2 separate regions of the Homo sapiens genome follow, and region 2 is linked to region 1. Evidence: promoter capture Hi-C in human tissues and cell types (Jung and others, 2019). All regions are on one chromosome and are shown on one strand. Each heading gives the region's core, a stretch centred on a gene start or on the middle of the fragment in contact. The rest is flanking DNA. Distances are from core to core; before and after follow the strand shown. Region 1 holds the start of IGFBPL1 (insulin like growth factor binding protein like 1). Region 2 overlaps ZCCHC7 (zinc finger CCHC-type containing 7).

The links. The method cuts DNA at HindIII sites, captures the fragments that hold promoters and counts their contacts. A contact is called where the count stands out against the background at its distance.
Region 2: a fragment that was not itself captured here is called in contact with the fragment with the promoter of IGFBPL1 in region 1 in 1 of the 25 tissues and cell types used here (dorsolateral prefrontal cortex).

Annotation. Positions count from the first base shown.
Region 1 is chr9:38,422,898-38,427,407 of GRCh38, reverse strand. IGFBPL1 (insulin like growth factor binding protein like 1) reads left to right here and starts at 2,954. Exons shown (of 5, transcript NM_001007563.3): 1 at 2,954-3,443. The coding sequence starts at 2,984. It overlaps LOC105376041 (a long non-coding RNA gene), which reads right to left and starts at 2,797. Exons shown (of 8, transcript XR_007061487.1): 1 at 2,658-2,797; 2 at 645-758. RefSeq lists an enhancer at 1-1,909. The HindIII fragment of the contact is 5,843 bases long and covers 1-4,510 here.
Region 2 is chr9:37,308,246-37,313,195 of GRCh38, reverse strand. The region is part of intron 5 of ZCCHC7 (zinc finger CCHC-type containing 7); the gene reads right to left. Among named protein-coding and RNA genes, the nearest start is that of LINC01627, 84 kb to the left of the region's middle. The HindIII fragment of the contact is 4,334 bases long and covers 823-4,950 here.

The DNA of each region.
Region 1 (4,510 bases), core at 1,705-4,204:
GTGTGGCCCACAGTGTTAACTGGTACTCTGGGAACCAGAGAGATGAAAGAGCACAAATGCCTCTGCTGGGCTATGGGCTTGCAGGCAATTTTAAAAGGAAATAGACATGACTGATCACCTTCAAAGCTTGGGAATGTTTTCTCCACCCAGATACAGGGGCTTTGATGCCACAGGCTCAGTGTTGGAAAATGAGTCTTCTGATTTAATTCTCAAAGAGTCGTTATGCATACATAGTACTCTCCCTACCATTTAAAAGGAATGTAGATCATATGTAAATGCGCCTCTGTGAGATTGTGTATCCTAACCTGCATTAAGCACACATTAATTTCATTATGACACCGTTCACTTACTCCTCCTTTAATGTCTGCATAAAAAGCAGGCAAATCATTTCTGTACACATTTATTTCTCAATCATGACCATGTTTTGTCCAGTCCAGGTCTCAGGGTCGGGCACTGTACTACAGGAATGGTGGCTCAGTTTGAGGTAATCAAACGTCAACTCCCCTGACCCCTACTTCTGACCCCCTCCATGCTCCTTGCCAAGACTCATTCTTAAACTCCTTCTTTGACAAGGACCTCACTATCTCTGGAGCAGCCTGATCTCTCTTTGGACAACTATGAACCATTAGAAAGTCTGAACTTACCAGCAAAGTTGTCCCTGAAAAGCAGCATGGAGTTCGCTTATCTCTTTTGTTTGCAAATCCTGCTTTGTTCATTTAACATTATAAGTGTTTCCTTCTCATAGTGAGACCCCATCTCTGAAAAAAAAAAATTGTTTAAATTAGCCAGGCGTGGTGGTGCTCACCTATAGTCCTAGATACTCAGGAGGCTGAGTGGGGGAGGACGGCTTGAGGCTCAGGAGTTTGAGGCTGCAGTGAGCTATGATCATGACATTGCACTCCAACCTGGGCAGCAGAATGAGGTACCATCTCTTTTTTTTTTTTTTTTTAAAAAAAGGGTTTCCTTCACATCATTAAAAACAATCTTAAATTTTTGCATGTTTACACATTCACATATTTACAAATATGCCATTACATTAGATGTGCACTTTTTAACCGCTATTTTACTAAACAATGTATTATAAACATGTTTTCATTTCTATTAACCCATATTTTCTTTCTAATTGTTAATGCCTGCATAATCCTCTATTGTTAGATGTACCATAATTTATTTAACGATTGCCTCTCGGTGGGCATTTAGGTCGTTAACTTTTTTTATTTTTATTTTATTTATTTATTTATTTTTTGCTATAGTAACCAACTCCAGGATGAAATCTTCACACATAGTGATCATTTTTTTAGGAGAGATTCCTGGAAGAGCACAGAGGGGTCAAGCGGTGAGAGCACTTTAAAAGGCCACTCCTGGTAAAGACAGCAGCCTCCAGGTTGAAAGTCACTGTTGATAGGTTCTGAGAGCTGCGCTGAGTGCATTACCAACATTGTTATATTTATTCCTTACCACCACCCCTTCATGGTGCCTAACCGCCCCTGCTCTGTGTGGCTGATTGTAAGGTAAGGCCTGGCGTGGACCAGGCAGATGGCCCTCCTCTGACCACCACATAAAGTGGCCTCAGAAGAGGCTCCTTTCTGGGGATAAGAAGACTGCAAACTGGGAAGGAACTGGGCTTGAAAAGCAAAATGAACCCCACCCAAGAACGGTGTAGCTGGTCTTCCCAGGCTGCAAGAGGCTTTCTCCATCTCCAGGAGTTCAGCAAAGAAAAAACAATAGAGCACAAGACACATGAGGGGTGGCCAGTAAAGGCAGGAAAAGTCTCCTATAAAACCTGCTCAGCGAGTCCCTCCCTCCATCCAGTGCATTTACCCAGCAACACATCAAATCCCAGCAGCCAAGACTCTCTTAGGTTTCTCGTCTGGGTGCCCTGCCAGAACTCAGGCAGGATGGTGTGCACAGAGCCTGGCCCAGAGAAGGCGCAACGGCGGCATGAATAACTGACTACAAGAAACTGCATCTTTCCAACATGCATTCCCCAGTAAGCCACAGGTACACTGACCCTTGTGCACCAAGACTTCATCAAAGCATTATTCGTATTAACCAAAGGATGGAAAATAAGTGGTTAAATAACTGCAACTAAACCCTGTGGAAAGGCCACTCTGTATGAACTCCAAAATATATCACCATATCTCATCACAACAAAGTCACTGTGGACGGAGATGTACCATGACTTTATGCAGCATTAAGAAACACACTCACAGAGCCAATGAACTATGCTCCCATTGATTGTATAAGAAACCCAGTTTCACAGATGACAAGAGGTGGGGAAACTGTGAAACACTGTAAGTGCAAAAACCAAGTGCAGACTAATGTGTATGGCACGCTACTCTGTGTGTGTGAGAGAGAAACAGAGTGTGTGTGTTTTAAAGGAAGGGGCTTTTTTAGGCACATGTACTTTTATAGGCATAGAGAAAATTTCTGAAAAGATATACAAAAACCCGATAGCAAGAGTGGCCTCTGGAAGCCGAGTTGGAGGATGGGGATACAAGGTGGTAGGGTAACCCTCTTTTCATCCTTAGATGTATATGTAAAATCTACATTTTAAACCATATATTCTCTTTATAAAATAAAACTTTGAAAACTACTGAATGCAAAATAAAATTAAATAAAATAGCGCATCCTTCTGGGAGGATTTACGGGCATACTATCTGGAGCCAGCCTTGGATCCGGAGACCGTACGGTTATCCAATCCTGACTCTGCCATAGCGACCTCGGGCAAGTTGTCGCCCCGACTGGGTCTCGGTTCCCTCAAGAGTCCAATCGGAGGTCGGAGAGCTGCTCTCGGGGCGACCCTCCAGCTCGGAGACCCGGGCCGCGGGCACCGCGCGGGTCCCGGGCTGGAGCAGCGGTCTGCGGGCGCCCCGCGGTGCAGGCCCGGCCAATCAGCGGCCGCGGGGCGGGAGCGGTGACTGCTCGGCGGGCGCGGAGCGGAGCGCGAAGCAGAGGCGCCGCCGCTGTCCCGGAGCAAGCCATGCCGCGCTTGTCTCTGCTCTTGCCGCTGCTGCTTCTGCTGCTGCTGCCGCTGCTGCCGCCGCTGTCCCCGAGCCTTGGGATCCGCGACGTGGGCGGCCGGCGCCCCAAGTGTGGTCCGTGCCGGCCAGAGGGCTGCCCGGCGCCTGCGCCCTGCCCGGCGCCCGGGATCTCGGCGCTCGACGAGTGCGGCTGCTGCGCCCGCTGCCTGGGAGCCGAGGGCGCGAGCTGCGGGGGCCGCGCCGGCGGGCGCTGTGGCCCCGGCCTGGTATGCGCGAGCCAGGCCGCTGGGGCAGCGCCCGAGGGCACCGGGCTCTGCGTGTGCGCGCAGCGCGGCACCGTCTGCGGCTCCGACGGTCGCTCGTACCCCAGCGTCTGCGCGCTGCGCCTGCGCGCTCGGCACACGCCCCGCGCGCACCCCGGTCACCTGCACAAGGCGCGCGACGGCCCTTGCGAGTTCGGTGAGTCAGGGTCGGGGATTGGGTGGGTAGAGAAGGAGGGATTCCAACCCTCTGGGGTGTGGAGCGAAGGATCCCCCTGCCCAGTGGTGGACGGCGCTGCCTGGCACTCAGTTTCCCCTTAGGGAGCAGTATTTCATATCTCTCCTCGTGCTCAGAGAGACTGGGGCGAGAATCCTTGGAGACGCCACTCACTGTGCTAGTCGAATTTTTGGTGAGCCTGCTACCCCTTTTGGTACTTAAGTACCTGCTGATGCAGTCACTTATTTGTAGGCATGGTATGTTTGCCCAGCAGGAGACTGGGAGTTAAGGAGGGGGATCCGAGTTCCCAGGTATCCAGCGCTAGGTGGATTGTTTGAATGGGGAGGAAGGGAAGTTGAGGTTGGGGGAGGAAGGGAAGTAGAGGATAGGGGAGGAAGGGAAGTTGAGGATGCAGGAGGAGGATGAGTTCCAGACTGGGGAATCAGTAGTCACCAGGCCACAGCACCAGAGCACCAGGGCCCCCGGTGTGGGAAGGGGCTGAGCTGGGATGCTGAGGGAGCTCCATCCAGGAGAAGTAAGACCTTTGGAGACGTAAGGTCTGAAAAGATTGTGGTGCTATTAGGGGCAGACTCAGGTTTCGTGCTTCTAAAACATATATAATTTGGAGAGTCCTGCCTTAAGTAAAGGAATAGAACTGCTAGGGACTTAGAAACTTATTATGAAATGCTAGGGACTTAGAAACTTAAGCTTCATTAACATCACAGTAAAATAATCTCTGAGTGCTATAGTTGCCCACCCTCTTTATGTACCTTTTGAAAACCAAACAAAAAGAAACCAAAACGTTAGCACTGCTTTACCGGCTTCCTAAGCATGAGTGTATTCCACCCACTAGGTTTTGAAGTGCCGCTGTGTACTTTGCCTGGAGTGGGCAGTGCTGAGTTTAGGGTGAGTGAGAAGGTGGCCAGTGAGTCCCAAGGAGCCTGGGTTTCGGCCTGGAGTTCAGGCTTCTGGGAAATAATTCTGGCCTGAGCCCAGAGACCAAGTCCAGACTTTAGTGCCTAAGTCAGTGTAATGACTTAGCTTCAAGA
Region 2 (4,950 bases), core at 1,740-4,239, 1.1 Mb after region 1:
TATTACCTATAAATAACATTAAAATGTTGAGAAAAGTGGGTGGAACAAAGTACATATATCTAACCAAAGTCTGATTTTCCTATTTCCAAAGGTAGGTGTAATGCACACTGTCAGCAGAACTACATATTTATCTGAAAGTACATACCAATCTATCACGATAATATAATTCTAGTGTTTTAGTTTTTTCAGAGATGAGTTTTTCTTTTCCCCTTCATTCCTTCCTCACATCGTGATTTTACACATCTAAGTTACTTTGTTGGGGAGGCGGCATTTTAATTTTAATTATTTATTCTTATTTATGCATTCTCATTTTCATTAAGTAGATTTGAATATATCAGTGGTTTCTCTTCAAATAAGTTGAGCAGGGAAATTAGCTTGTTCATGATTATTTGCTATCTGAATCTTAATTTTATCATTTCTTAAAAAAATGTTTTTTGTAGATATAGGGTCTCACTATATTGCATAGGCTGGTCTCTAACTCCTGGCCTCAGGCAGTCCTCCAGATTTGGCCTCCCAAAGGGCTGGGTTGTGGTTACTGGCATGAGCCACTGCGCCCAGCCCTCTATATTATTTCTTAAAACTGCATGTGAATCTATAATCATGTCAAAATAAAAAGACACAGTTACTTGGCTCCCTTCTTAGGTCTACGTCACACTTTCTACATTTTCTAGGTATGCATCATCTGCAAGTCACTAAGTTTAGAGTCTTCTAAGACTCTTTTATTTATCACCACCCTGATGTACTTTCACATTACACTTTACACTGTTCTTAACACACCCACCTTTCCTATTATACTCTGAGTTCCTCAAGGGCAGGGATCATGTTTTATTCATCTTTTTTTCCCCTAGTACTTGGAATACTGTCTGGCATATAAGAGGCAACCAGCAAATTTTTGCTAAATGAACAAATGTAGAAAGTTTATTTGGGTGGTAGAACACTGGAGATGTTTTTGAATAAAGGTAGAACCGCCATTACACAAAATATGTGAATTAAGCAAGTCTTTAAATTCAAATCTTGGCTTAGTTATTCAGCACAATAATATGTTTCAGCCATTCTTATTTCTGGCCAGTCATATCTGAGTAAGACTGTGGAAAGGATAAGGGGAGGAAATCATATGAATACTACTCAGTGCTCCTTGGAGTACACTAAAAATAAAATAAATACCTGTTTCTTAAATAATTACCTTTACAAAAATAATGCTCTAGTAACTCTCCATTCTGGATTTGACAAGTATGAAATGATTTGTACTAGATGCTTTGTATTTCCTGCTGGAAATCTCCAAGTTTAATAAAAATCTAAATAAAAGACATTAGTTTTCAATTTTACATATATATTTATTGAAGAAACATCATTGAGCACTCACGTGTATGTTAAATACTACACAGTTTAAACTGAGTTCTCCTTAAAATAAACTTTTGCACTGTGAAAAATATTGTAGTATATGGCTGATATGGGAGCATTTTTCTAGCATCAAAAAAGTAAAAAGGCCGGGCGCAGTAGCTCACGCCTGTTAACCCCAGCGCTTTGGGAGGCCAAGGCGGGCAGATCACCTGAGGTCAGGAGTTCGACATCAGCCTGGCCAACATAGTGAAACCACACCTCTACTAAAAATACAAAAATTGGCCAGGTGTTGTGGCTCATGCCTGTAATCCCAGCTACTTGGGAGGCTGAGGCAGAATTGCTCGAATCTGGGAGGCAGAGGTTGCAGTGAGCCGAGATCACACCTCTGCACCCTGGGCGGCAGAGTGAGACTCTGTTTCAAAGATAAAAATAAAAATAAATAAATAAAGGAATCAAGTGAAATATGTTCTATGAATTATTTTCTCCCACTGTATTAAAAAATCAGACTTTAACAGTTATTTAGCATGGACTGGGATAACACACTGAGCAGGGAATTTGAGAAAAAAATTGCTGAATAAAGGTAGGAAATTTAGGAGGTTTGGGTTTTGATTATATCTGACACTGACTAACTCAGTCATTATGCTTTAATAAAAAAGGATGGCAATCTGAACAATTAATAAAGATTGCTGAAGCTGCAATGGTCTCTTGTGAGCAGTAAAGCTCTATGGTATCACAGAATTGGCTCTGTATCTGAAAATCAACATTCTATACTGCTTTCTTGATCCCCAGGGGTTTTTTAAAGTGCTGACAACCTAAGGTAAAATTTATTTTTGTTTGGAAAATATTTTTCTTTATGTGTTTTATAATATATTGATTTTTTTTTTTTTTTTTTTTTAAAAAGAGAGAGTCTTACACTGTCACCCAGGCTGGAGTGCAGTGATGTGATCACAGCTCACTGCAGCCTTGATCTCCTGGGCTCAAGCAATCCTCCCATCTCAGCCTCCCGAGTAGCTGGGACTACAGGTGCGTGCCACCCTGCCTGGCTAATTTTTAAATTTTTTTTTTGGTAAAGAGTGGGAGTCTCACTATGTTGCCCCAATGTCATGAGTGTTATATTAAAGTTGCTTATTAGAGCTATAATATCTGCATATTTAAGAAAGAAAGTTGAGAGATCCTCCGAGTAGGAGATAAACTGATGATTCCTTGATTGCCAATATGTAAGCTTTCTCCACATAGTCATAAAGTATAGCATCATTTTAGCTTTTAGACCTTAGACTTATTAACCTTGTAATGTCTCAGTTTTCAGTTTGTAAAATAGGAGTAATAAATAGTACCTACACTTCATATCCTGCTTATGAGGATTAAATCTACTGAACACCTACTATATGCTAAGGGCATAGTGGTGAATGAAGCACTCCTCCAGCACAGTAAACACACAATTATGTATGGCTGTTGTTATCTTGGAAATGTCAGAGATAGCTCACAGAATAGGTTTCTGTGTGCAAGCTAAAGGTATACAGACATTTAAAAATTCTCTGTATATTTAAAAATTGTTGGCAAGTGAGGAGAGAAACTATAGCAGATTCAGAAACAGGATTCTTTCCATAATCCAGGTTCTTGTCTTCTGAAAGGGACTAATGATGCAGGTTGACTTTAGTAGGCCTTGAGCCATCTTTTTATCCTTCACCTCATAAAACTCTGGAATTTCAACCAAATACTTTTACAGAAGTAGTTAACCAATGAGCAATTTCCAACAGATTTTAGGAAAAAGCTTTTCATTACAGAAAGGATTTGAATATGACTCGACAGTTTTCACTACAAATTCTCTTTGCATACATATATCTGGTAATCTGGCCAAACAGAGGTCTAGGTGTGTGACTATGGGAATATATAAAGTAAAAGGGCAAGTTTCTTTCATTTTTTTTTTTTTTTTTGGAAACAGTCTCACTCTGTTGCCCAGGCTGGAGTTCAGTGGTGCAATCTCGGCTCACTGAAACCTCTGCGTCCTGGGTTCTAGCAATTCTCATGCCTCAGCCTTCCCAGTAGTTGGAATTACAGGTGTGCACCACCACACTCAGCTAACTTTTGTACTTTTAGTAGGGATGGGGTTTTGCTGTGTTGGCCAGGCTGGCCTCAAACTTGTGGCCTCAAGTGATCTGCCTACCTCGGCCTCCCAAAGTGCTGGGTAACAGGCATGAGCCACCACGCCCAGCCTTGGAAGTTTCTCAATATCGTCAATTTATAAAAGGTTAGAAATCCTCTGTGAATGAGCAGAAAGTCCAGTAGGTGGGAAGATGAAAATGACAAAGAATGGTAGAGGATAGTATTGCTAGAGGGTATAAGCCTTAAATAAGCCAAAGGTATTTACATAAAAAGGGTTGAGTAATGACTTAAAAGCAGCCATGGCATGTGAGAAAGAGGCTGATATCATCTCTTAAGATTCAGGGTCACGGAAGATGAGCAGCAAGCATTTGATAGGGCTGCAGAGGAAACAAATTTTCTGTGGAGGCCCAGGTTTCAAGACAGACCTAAAGCATGTACAGTTCCAACAACATGGGGCCAGAATGACTCGGCTTCCATGTGAATTCTCATGAAGTTTCTGGGGTGGTGGAAGGACTATGAGCCTTGCCACAAGGAGTCAGTAGAGCCCAGGCTTGACTGGGCTGCGAGGGAATCCTACACCAGGTGTGTAGGCTACAAAGACCAGCTTCCAGAACCTTCGCCATGTAATTACAACAAATATAGTAGATACTGGTAGATTTGGGGAAAAGAGTACTGCCTTCTCTGAAGCTGGTCACAGCCCAACCCTATTTTATTTTATTTTTTGAGATAGGCTCTCACTATGTTGCCCAGGCTGTTTTTTTTTTTTTTTTTGGATACAGACTTTCACTCTGTTGCCAGGCTGGAGTGCAGTGGCATGATCTTGGCTCACTGCAACCTCTGCCTCCCAGGTTCAAGCGATTCTCCTGCTTCAGCCTCCTGAGTAGCTGGGACTACAGGTGTGTACCACCACGCCCAGCTAATTTTTGTATTTTTAGTAAAGACTGGGTTTCACACCATGCTGGCCAGGATGGTCTCGATCTCTTGACCTCGTGATCCACCTGCCTCGGCCTCCCAAAGTGCTAGGATTACAAGTGTGAGCCACCAGGTTTTAAACTCCTGGGATTAAGAGATCCTCCTGCATTAGCCTCCTGAGCAGCTGATATTACAGGAGCATACCATGATTTTAATCTTATTTAAAAAAACCTACATTCATTGGGATTATTAATTCTCATTTTAGATAATAATTTAACATATATTAGAGGCCAAAATCAAGAAGTTAAGAGGAATGGCCTATAGAATTAACACAGATGATTATATAACCTTTTACAAGTAATTTTTAACTGTTCTGTAGTACAGTTTCTTGTTTTTAAAAAATTGCCTATGATAATGTCTTACTCCCCTTCTTTATCACAGGCAAATAAGACCATATTTGTCAGAGCTCTTTGGAAGAAAACAGTAAAAAAAAAACAGATGCTATTAAAGATAACTGCCAAACTAGAAAATCTTGCTAAGAAAATTATAATTGACAACTTAATGCAGACAACAACATAATGCTAGGACAATTCA